Linked DNA regions of Homo sapiens: all the other regions are linked to region 1. The links are contacts of gene promoters, found by promoter capture Hi-C in blood cells and fetal thymus (Javierre and others, 2016). All regions are on one chromosome and are shown on one strand. Each heading gives the region's core, a stretch centred on a gene start or on the middle of the fragment in contact. The rest is flanking DNA. Distances are from core to core; before and after follow the strand shown. Region 1 holds the start of CDCA7 (cell division cycle associated 7). Region 2 overlaps CIRSR (corepressor of RBPJ and splicing regulator). Region 3 overlaps OLA1 (Obg like ATPase 1).

Region 1 (3,754 bases), core at 820-3,319:
TCTGAGTGAAATTGTATCTCCTGTGTCAGAGGCATTTGAACTACAGCAACTCCATCTTGAATAGGAGCTGGGCAAAATAAGCCTTGAGACCTGCTGGGCTGCATTCCCAGGAGGTTAAGGCATTCTATGTTACAGGAAGAGGTAGGAGGTCAGCACACGACACAGGTCATAAAGACCTTGCTGATAAAACAGGCTGCAGTAAAGAAGCCAGCCAAAACCAAGATGGCGAGGAGAGTGACCTCTGGTTGTCTTCACTGCTACACTCCCACCAGCGCCATGACAGTTTACAAATGCCATGGCAACATCAGGAAGCTACCCTATATGGCCTAAAAAGGGGAGCCATGAATAATCCACCCCTTGTTTAGCATACAATCAAGAAATAACCATAAAAATGGGCAACCAGCAGCCCTCGGGCTGCTCTATCTACGGTGTAGCCATTCTTTTATTCCTTTACTTTCTTAATAAACTTGCTTTTTCACTTTACGGACTTGCCCTGAATTCTTTCTTGTGCAAGATCCAAGAACCCTCTCTTGGGGTCTAGATCGGGACCCCTTTCCAGTGACACTTGTTTTAATTTGCATTTTCCTGATTACTAAAAAGACGAATAGACCAGAGATCTTATCCTTAAAAAACACATACACCAAATTATTTTCTTGTGCTCCCAGGAAGACTAAAAATTTCCCTATCAGAACCTTTCACAGGCAAAGTGACTTAATCTTCCCCTGCTTCATGGATCTAGTAATTCCAAATTTTCATATATTTAGCTTTAGTGGCACAAAATTATATTCCCAAATGTTTATTCATTCAACAAATACTTACTGAGGGCCCTGTAATTCCGTAATTTCACCACCCACCGATAGCCTCTCCTCCTGGCACTCACCTTCTAGACCTTGAGCTCTTTGTCCCTTGCACAGTGGCAGAGTGATTACTGGGTAGGTATATTTAAGAAAGGCTGGAAGACTCCTTCCAATCCATTGTCCTCGGGCATTATTTACTTGCTCACAGTTTTTGTATTCAGTACACCAAGAGAGGAACACAGTATGTCCATGCACTCTCTTACTGCAAAGGAATTAATTATTCCCCAGAGAAAAGTTTTGAAATGAGGGGGAAATGCGAATGTTTTCATTTCAAGCGCTTGTTTTAAATGTTAAGAGTATAATTAGTGTCTTCTAAAGAAACTAAATTTACTTTTTCTTGTAGAAGCAAGTTTTGCTCTTCACGCACACAAAAAGCCTCGCTTTATTTCATTTTTTCGTTGTAATGCCAAGTTTGGTTAAAAGGGCAATGAAAAGTTTTCTCGTTCGCACTGACTCAGGGTAGTTCTCAATTCTGAAGACAGAGAAGATCATCAAGCCACAATTGTTCAATCTTTAGTTTCAATCCCCAACAGATAATCGTTAAAGGTTAACTATACTATAGACGTCTTCATCAAGCTGCTGCGGCTTTTCTTCTACTTTGAAAACCACAAGTAAACAAGTCGGCTTCCTGTGCTTTTTGGAAAGAAAGATCAGGATTTAACTCATTTTATTGCTTCAGATAATGGTGTGGTTCCCAGATAAGAGGTGCTACATCCAGGGGCGGTGAACTCGATTATGAAGGGTGGAGTTCGTGCTGGATTCTATGATTTTTTAAATCTTGTAAACCGCACGCAGCAATGAAAGTGCTAAACGCCATGGTGCGTGACCCGCGCCACCCTCACGCTGCTCTCCTTTACCCCCCAGACTCCACTTTTCCTCCGCCACCACGAAAATTCTTGCAAATCAGACAGCTAACCCCGGGGCAATACGAACCATTTTCGCGCCACTCGCTCAGGACCGCGCAGCTGCACAAGGAGAGTGGTCCCCGTAGCCCCTAAAGCCCCCCTTTCTCAAAGGGGATTTTAGGAGTGCCCAAGGCTATCCTTTGAGGTCAGAATATATAGGGGGGTCGTGTTTTTTCCAGGGGGCCACCTAGTCTTGCGCCATGTCTGGCCGTTACCACAGCTTGCAGGACCTGTGTCCCAACGCGGGAAAGACAGCCCGAGCCCCGCCCCTCCGGGCCCGGGTCGGCGCGCCCAGCCTGCCAGCCGCGCTGCTGCTGCTCCTCCTGCTGTGGGACCGCTGACCGCGCGGCTGCTCCGCTCTCCCCGCTCCAAGCGCCGATCTGGGCACCCGCCACCAGCATGGACGCTCGCCGCGTGCCGGTGAGGGCTGGGCGGGCGAACCCGAGGGGCGGGCGCGGTGGGTGCTGGACGCAGGCGGGCGCGGGCCGACCCTCTCCAACTCCGCAGCCTAGCGCTGCCTTAACTGGTGGCCTGCCTAGGCGTTGCCCGCTTGGGCAAGCCCCTGATTTTGTGCACCTGGGATAACTGAGGGCCATGGGGACGTTCCTGCGTGGCGTGCGCACCCGAAGTGCGGGCGGCGTGGAGACTTGAGTCGTTTGCAGGATGGCTAGCAGCGCTGGAAAGCCCTAGGCACGTGCGTCCGCCAAAGGCCGGACAGCGGCCGGGAGCGCTGGCCGGTCCCGATTTTGCCTGCCAGGCAGAGCCAGCCTGCCTGCCCCCTGGGAGGTTGTCCCGCAGCGGCCCAGCCCTTTCCCGCACACAACTCGGAGCCAGTGCGTGGCTCGCCGCGTCTATACCCGCGCTCAGTGGGTGGCCCTTGGGCGCGCACCCCGCCCGGCAAGAGACGCGTCCGCTTCTAACCGCTGAGGGCCAGCGCGTCTGAGGTTTAAGGTCTTGCGAACCGGTCTCCTAGAACTTGGGCTGCGCACGCAGTGTGAAGCGACCGTAGTCCCGGGCGGTGGTTAAGTGCATTTAAAGGGCTTGGTGGGTCAAAGCGTTCGCCGACCATTTGCTCGTTTCCTACTTCCTCCACCCCAACCCCCAACCCCCCACCCCCCACCCCCCAGCCTTACTCTTAGCTGCAGGACGTTGCTCTGAGTGGAACGTTACTTTTTGCTCTAACGGAAGCCAGAACGTAGGGTCGGGCTCCTGGAGAGGGTAGAAGAGTGGGGGTTGGGTGAAACGGAAGACAATGACATGTTTAAAATAAATATCAGGGGTTAGGGACCCTCGCGGGGGTGGGTGCGATGGGGCGTGGTTTCAGAGCTGAGTCGCCGCCCCGGTGGAGCTGGGCATTGGCTTTCCGGATGAAGAAAACCATGTGTAGCTGGTCTTGGAACCTGACATGCCTGAGTTCAAATCTGAGCCACCATGGGACTTGAGTAATCCATTTCGCTTTCCTGAGCCTCAGTTTCCTCATTGGCTAAGTGAGAATAACGATAGCACCTTTGTTGCAAAGAATTAAACCTGACGTGAAAGTGTACTTAACATAGTGCCTGGCACGAAAAACGCCTACTATAAATGGTATTAGTTATTACTTACCTGCCAAAGAAGTTCATCTCCGTCTTGACTATTTGCCTTGCTGCTTTTTTGTGGCTTTTCCTCCAAAGATACGTTTGCCTGGTAAATAACTCTTGGCTTGTGCTGACTTGTTAAAGCTCAGCCTGTATTTCTCGGACAGCTTCCAATAGAATGCCGCCTTTGAGGCTGTCTGGGGCCTCTGACTGCTTGCAGGTAGATTGATGAGTAAAGGGTGGTAATTCCTGCAGTAATGCGATGAACACTGCTGCTTAAGAAGATGGCAGACTTGAGTTCTCCTTCCTGCCCCTGTGATCTTGCAGTCTATTACACCTTCCTGGGGCCTTGAATATCCTCATCTGGAAAATGGGATCTGAGATCCTTTTCAGCTCCCAACATTCATTGTGTCCCAGG
Region 2 (3,754 bases), core at 763-3,262, 1.0 Mb after region 1:
GTGGGAGAGAATTAAAAAATTTTTTTGTAGTCTCCCTGCCGAAGTGGATCATACAGCACTAAGAGGTTAACATGACTGCTTTGCCAGCATTAGGAAACTTTTCCAGGAAAAGGATGATAGACACACACAGATAAAATGTTTAGAGCATGACTTCCATTCTCTATCTCTTGAATGTTAACTCTTGCCAGTTTAAATACTTTATTTTTAATTTAATGAAATATAAAAAAGAAGATTATGAGTTTTACAGGAATGTCAAAATATCCACAATTTTAGCTTTTATTATAATTTCAACAGCACATTATCAAATATATAATAATATAGCCCTTCAAACTCAATCATTTTCTGGATCTATGTATAGTTTAATAAAATAAATAAGTTTAAAATATTTTCTACAATTTTTAGGAGTTTTTACATACTTCTAACCATTGGTTCTATTTAATGTCATATCAGGGGTAAGTTAGCAGGAAGGAAAAACCAACAACCTCATCACCAGTTCAGTTAGATATTTTATCCACATAAACTCAGAGGAGCAGTTTCATTTATTAAAATACAGGTTTATAAACAATTTCTCATTTAGATTAAAATAATAAAGCAAAATCAAAACACATTTTGGGCATTTTCTTTGCTCTATCTTACTTTCCTATGGATATATGCATATTGGAAAACATTAAGTAGCAATTCACAAGCAATCACATTTAGATTTATAGACATTTTCAGCTTACTGATAAAAAGATCATTACCTGTGATGGATCATTTGCGGTCAAGTTTCTCCCCAGTACATTTCGTTTCAGTGCAAACCCACTGTTTCTCATCTCCGCTATTAGCTCCGAGGGGTGCATCGATGGCCCTGTTCACAAAAATCACAGTTTGAATGTATCATTTATATCTCTCTACCTTTTTCGGACTCCACAGTAGGAATGCAGTTGAAGCTTTGTTAAGTAAAATCACAGCTAAATCAACTCAATAATCTTCTGCTGAGCAAATAATCAGATATGATTTTCTAAAACAGCAGTCTGGAGATTCAGAATAGAAAATAATTGCATTTTTCTTTACGTGCAAGGGGAGTCTTCTTATGTAACTTTGTCATATTGAAAAAGATACATTTAGATGTTATCTGGTTGGCAGTTTTTAGTATAAAATCAAAGCAAAATATTATAATAAAAAACTACAATTAAACTTTTAGTAGTTATTCTCTCAGTAAGAGTTCATTTAAAAGATGTATTTTTAAAGGTACATGAGGAATTTATCATCCTTATTTCCAATTCAAAATTCCTCATCCTTATTTGTCAAATAACAATACTGAATACATTGCCAAGTGGTTGCTAATCACACACACACACACACACACATACACACACACACACACCTATGGGTAACCACCAAGTACTTTAATTAATCTTGCTTTTATTCCCAGATTTCAAAATTTTTAATTACTAGCTTGGGTTGCTAACAAGCAGTTTTAGGCTGGCTATTGGTATGTATGTTTTATATTTTTTTACACTACACTTCCACTTTTGCAAAATCTCAGACTGAAAAGTGAGCTTTTTGTTTCCCAAATATGAACTAACAATAAATTTTAAAAATTTTCAGCTGGGAGTGGTGACTCATGCGTGTAATCCCAGCATTTTGAGAGGCAGAGGCGGGAGGATCACTTGAGCCCAGGAGGCCAACTTGGCCAACATGGCAAAACCATGTCTCTAAATAAATAAATAATTTTTTTTTAAAGGTTTGCCCCCTGCCCTCAAACATAAGGTTTATGTAAGGTAAGAGAGACTCTTATCTCATTTTGTATATTCCTGTTTCATTTTGTTTTCCCTGCAGATAGCAAACTAATGACAACATTTCATGGCAGCTATTTAAAGTTGCCAGCCTAAATCACCTACACTGGCTTAAATGACGTACTCCAGCTGATGTGTCTGTCACTTAGGGAAGAATGAGACAGTTACTGCCAAAAAGGAGTTCATACGGGAGGGTAGGGGGATAGAAAAATATTCAGAAATGAGTTCTTTAGTTTGCTGGTTGAATACTTTGTCTATTTCTTTTTACTGCTTTGTTGGTCTTTTACCACTTATTTGCGCACTCACCTGCATATTATCATGGAAAGCAAAAGGCAATCAGTTCAAATTTGTTTACCTGTCAATAGCAGATGTGGTTAAAAATTTGGTGAGAAAAACTCAGTTATAAGATAATATATTTTACTGGACTTTCCAGGCTTTACCATTCCATTCATATTGCGAAGAACAACTGTAAGTTTGCCCTAGGTACTAGGGAGATGATGGGGAAAAACTGTCTATTATTGGAGTATGGGGGAAGTTATTAATGATGTCATAGTTTTAGGAAAAAAAGCCTTATTTAGTTAAAAACAAACAAAAACACCTGTCTTATATTAATATTTCATTTTAAACCAAGAGGGTTTTTAATTTTTTTCTTCTATACAAAATGTTTAATTCCTATGTATTACTTTAATGGCCCTTTAATTATTCAGTCTGGTTGTTAACATTGATAATACAATCTTAAATAAAATTGAATTTTAAATATTAATACTGGTTGCCTCTAAATGGCATAGAGGTGCTCATACAATTAAGAGCTTTTTGTGTGTGTGTGTGTGAGATGGAGTCTTGCTCTGTTGCCCAGGCTGGAGTGCAGTGGCACGATCTCGGCTCACTGCAACCTCCGCCACCTGGGTTAAAGCAATTCTCCTGCCTCAGCCTCTGGAGTAGCTGGGATTACAGGCAACTGCCACCATGCCTGGCTAATTTTCGTATTTGTAGTAGAAACGGGGTTTCACCATGTTGGTCAGGCTGGTCTCAAACTCCTGACCTCGTGATCTGCCAGCCTCAGCCTCCTAAAGTGCTGGGATTACAGCCGTGAGCCACCGCGCCCGGCTCAATTAAGAGCTTTAAATGAATAATAGAATGTTTACTTTGGTGGCTTCTCAAATTTCACATGTAGGAACTTAATTTTATAAAGTAGAAAATGTCTCTTCTGAAGTGTCAAAACTACATTTCCTTGTCAACAATTTTATTAGATATCGAATGAATTCAGACACCAAACTTGTTAATAATTAGAATAAAAACCACTCCAATAAAGGGTCACAAAGCTTGGCCATCATGATGAGAGGTTATACTAATTTCATCAGTTTTCATCACAAGATGGGTAATTTTAATAAGATGTTATAGAAAGCATGCCTTCTTTACAGTACTTCCAACTATGTCAAGAAAATGATGTATTTCCCCAGTGTTACAGAGATTATACAGACTATTAAACAATCATTACTCTTCTAGCATTTATATTTTTCAAAAATCCCAACTGAAAACTCTGTGTAGTATATAAATTTAGCACACTTTCACAATGTATGACTGTAAATAGAGTGCTTAGTGAAGTGCTCGACAAATAGTACTTAATAAAGAGTAACAACTATTATTTTTACCAGTACCTATTCAACTTTCTTATATAAGAAATTGTCTTTTTATAAGATATATTATATATGTACATATATTACTTATATATGTACATATATATTTTATATATTATATATAATATATATTATATGATATATATAATATATTATATAATATAATATATAAAATATATATAATATATATTATATTATATAAATTATATTATATATATCATATAATATATTTTATATATTATATAATATATATTATATTATATATATTTTATATATTATATTATATATTATATATATCATATAATATATATTATATTATATATTTTATATATTATATAA
Region 3 (3,754 bases), core at 322-2,821, 730 kb after region 1:
CAGATTCTACAGGATGAAGAAATTCAGACTATGTAATAGGCAGAATCAATTGTTACCTGCCTCAATCAATGCCGCTCCACTTTCACTGTTCAGCAGCTCACAAATAATTAAAGTTATCCTGGACAAAAACCTCATCTGTAATGACTAGCTAACCGCCACCATGACAAACTTCAAAGTCAGTGATATCAATCTGAATTCAATAGTGTGGAACTGGATATAGCTGATGAATAAGTATGAATCTTACCCTGATGGTCCATGCACGCACTTCATCTGGGCCTGCAGTGAAAAAGTATTCTAGTTGGAGTGCTGCAAACCCAGCCTTAATGATCTTTGGCAAAGCACTGAAATCAAATGAAACAAATTCACCCAACACATAAGTTGATTGTGCCAGAAATTGGTATAGAGCTAAAATTATTCATTTCAAGCAGAAAATGTTAAAGATAGTAGTAAATGACCATTCATCTTTCAGAATACACTGGAAGGGTTCAGAAAGCAAGTAACTGTTTTTAAAAACCTCTCTTCTAAAATTGGTTTTAATTGTATTAGCCTGAAGATATTATTTTGAATTGTTTGCTATTTAAAAAAAGAAAAATTATGACTATTTTCATCCAAAATTAATTATTTCCAGGACCTGGCCATAAAAGCAAAATTATTTGATTGAAATCTGATATTTAAACAATATATTACTGTTACTCAGAAAAAATTATGGCAACTGATTCACCCTTTCCCCTCCCCCACTGAACATGACGAAAGAGTTTTGGCGATCATTCCTTCTCAAAAATATACATAACTAATACCTATGTTATAATTAAAACACTGTACGGAGATGACAGATGACAGTTAAAAACTTAATTTAAAATAAATCTTTTCACTCTGTCTCATGGTAAAGAAAGGAGAAGATTCCCTCTTTATAATGGTAATTACTCTGTCATTTATTATTCTATCAGCGCAAGCAATTAAATTACTGCAAGGAAATAGTTGATAATAAAGTGTAGGGAAAATGAATGCTAATTAACCTTTGTGTCATGTTCGCTTCCAGATACTTCTGTCTCTCCTCAGCACTCAATTCTTGCAACTTGAGTTCCAAGGCCCCACTAAAAGGAATGACCAAAGCACCTGGGTCATACTTGTCCACCCACTCTTTAATTTTTATCAACCTGTAGACAAAAAAGGGCACAACATTATCTTGTAGTGCATGCATGACTGTACCACATTCATTATTATCAAGTAGCACATACATATTCATAAGAATTGCACGGTTTTATGATGCCATCTTTTTGTATATAGCTTTCCAAGGTCAAGGCATTAACAGGCAGCAACTGCTTCAGGTATACGCCATAGTATTTTACTGTAACCTAGTTTTACTTTAGCACATTATCTATGGAAACTATTATACAAATATTTAAAAACTTTTTTTAGTTACACTAAAATTGTTCAGCATTAACACCTGTACCCTTGAATAAAGCTTCCATTTTATAATTTTTTGTTTTCCTTACTTTACAAAGTAAATTTTTAAAAGAAGACATAAAGTTCTGTTTGTACAGGAATCATACCTAAAAATACCAGCTAATTCTGAAGAGCCCTTCACAAATAAATAATTTGTTCCAGCCAGATATCTATATGCCTGGTTTAGTTCCTTCATGGACTAACAGAACTCACAGTGGTCACTAGTTTTGAGGAAGCTTTTTCCTAGCCAGAACAAGCACGTGCAGAAATACAGATTTACAAATATGGTTGATCACGTACGCAGCTGTATGAACCTGACTTTTGTGAGAACAAGAATAATAGAACTGCAGAGGAAAGAAATTCCTTTAATCACAAAGGATTTGGAAAGCCAAATCAGTTAGGAAACTGATCCTAGTTGTTACCTGAAAAGACATTATTGAGTCATTTTTTTTCCTTCCAAAGCATGGAGTATTTGGCAAAGTAGTAATTAGAACATAAATGAAATAAGTGTAGTGAATATATTAATTAGGTTCAGAGCCTAACACTTTCCTAGCTTTTTATTACTGGGCAGGTTACTGAACGTTTCTAAGCCTCAGTTTCCTCACTTGTAAAAATAGAGATAATAATAGTACATATTATATTGTAAGGAACCTAGAAAAGCCTGCAAATAGTAAAGAATTAACAGCAGTTACTATTATTAATTTTCCTTCTCAGATAATCATAGCATACATTCCTATGAATCTGGAACTGAGTTTAGTGTGAGACTATACATTCCATTAAAATTTTTATAAAATTATGCTATAGGCTTACATAATTCCACTAGACTGCTATATTTAGACAAAGGTTTTAATAGTTATTATGGCAAAATGCTGTGGCAGAAGTCCTTTAAATAATTAATGTAAATGCCACTTTAGGGGAAAAGAAAAACAAGAACTAAGTCACAAATCCATCAATGGCAGGGGAGCAGAGTTATTAGAAAATTAAGACTATGGCCCATTGAGCAGGATTTAGGATGGGAGAAAGGAATGAAAAACAATCACACAAGAGTTTGTATATGTTTGTTATACAAAGGTAACTACTTATTTAGTATGTTATTTGTGGTTTTCAATCTTCATAATAGTATTTTTTCTTTTGTTCATATCCCAAAAAATGGACCAAGTCCTATGATTTATGTTGCCTTTAACATAAAATTCAAACTAGATGTTTTCTTAACCAAAATTAAGAAGGACAGGTTAAAAAAAAGGTGGGGGGACTGAAATTGGTGCTTCTGTCTCCGTTAACATTATGGTATTCTAAGTTACTTCACAGACTTACACTATTCAAACAAAAGTCTATATTCAAATGTTATCATCAATGGTTTAGTAACTTACTTTCATTATACAAGTTAAAATCAAATATGTAATTTTAAAAAAGCAGATCACATACCAAATAGATTCAATGAAAGTGAAATAAAACAAGCCCATGTAAAAGGAGAATATAAAAATATCATACACACTTTATTTCATAAATATGGTCAACAGAACTAATAAAACTAGAACTGTTATGAAACAACAAGATAAGAAATAATTACTTTAGCTAACACATCAATTCAGAATAACAATAGTCCTACCCTGTCATTTTAACAGCCTTTCCTGCAGAGTTCTCAGAGGGATTATTTGCATTCCTCAGGTGTTCTATTGTACAATTCAAATGAATAAAGACTTACAAATCATTCCTCTACCGCCAATGTGAGACTTTGATCTGGTGAATACACTATTGTACCTTAACTATAATTGGCAAAAAACCTGACAGTGTAGAGCATCACAAGCTTAATAACAAAGGAGAATATCTCAAAGTGTTGACAGATGATCTTCATAATGCAGAAGCAGAGCTGGTACATTTTAGCAGTAAATGAGCACTGAGGTCTAAAGGTCTCTAAAGTGACTGACATCAGACCTGCTATAGCCTCACTAAAAGAAAAAGGTACCGTAGCACTCTCCCGTAAAGTGAGTTAGGCTCTTTGCCTGCCAGCTTCACTTTTGTGACTTTCACTGTCATAGAAAACACAGGGAAGATGAAAAGTGAGTGAGGTTCTTTGGCTGTCTGCTTTACTTTTGTGACTTTTACTATCAAACAAAAGTGGGAAATGTCCCAAAATGATTTTTAATTACATCTATGAAATAAACCTAGGGTAATTAAAAATATTATTTGATTTCAAGATTATAGACTGAAATATATGTGGTGTATCTATTAGGTCTGATGGTTACAAAAGTGTGATAATGAGGCCAAGATCACAAATCTGAACCCCATGGGGACCAGTTACCTTTTG

What was found. Contacts are between HindIII fragments. The CHiCAGO score rates a contact against its expected background, and 5 or more counts as called.
Region 2: a contact is called between a fragment that was not itself captured here and the fragment with the promoter of CDCA7 in region 1, in 9 of 17 cell types (total B cells, activated CD4 T cells, total CD4 T cells and 6 more). The highest score is 7.7, in total B cells.
Region 3: a fragment that was not itself captured here is called in contact with the fragment with the promoter of CDCA7 in region 1 in 1 of 17 cell types (total CD4 T cells); the score reaches 5.7 in total CD4 T cells.

The regions. Positions count from the first base shown.
Region 1 is chr2:173,352,803-173,356,556 of GRCh38, forward strand. CDCA7 (cell division cycle associated 7) reads left to right here and starts at 2,070. Exons shown (of 10, transcript NM_031942.5): 1 at 2,070-2,182. The coding sequence starts at 2,162. RefSeq lists enhancers at 1,114-2,069, 1,372-1,461 and a silencer at 2,012-2,281. The HindIII fragment of the contact is 4,998 bases long and covers 1-3,754 here.
Region 2 is chr2:174,350,879-174,354,632 of GRCh38, forward strand. CIRSR (corepressor of RBPJ and splicing regulator) reads right to left here. Exons shown (of 10, transcript NM_004882.4): 8 at 741-847. Among named protein-coding and RNA genes, the nearest start is that of SP9, 18 kb to the left of the region's middle. The HindIII fragment of the contact is 2,171 bases long and covers 928-3,098 here.
Region 3 is chr2:174,080,908-174,084,661 of GRCh38, forward strand. OLA1 (Obg like ATPase 1) reads right to left here. Exons shown (of 11, transcript NM_013341.5): 8 at 1,017-1,157; 9 at 245-341. Among named protein-coding and RNA genes, the nearest start is that of LINC01960, 58 kb to the left of the region's middle. RefSeq lists an enhancer at 2,868-3,470. The HindIII fragment of the contact is 217 bases long and covers 1,464-1,680 here.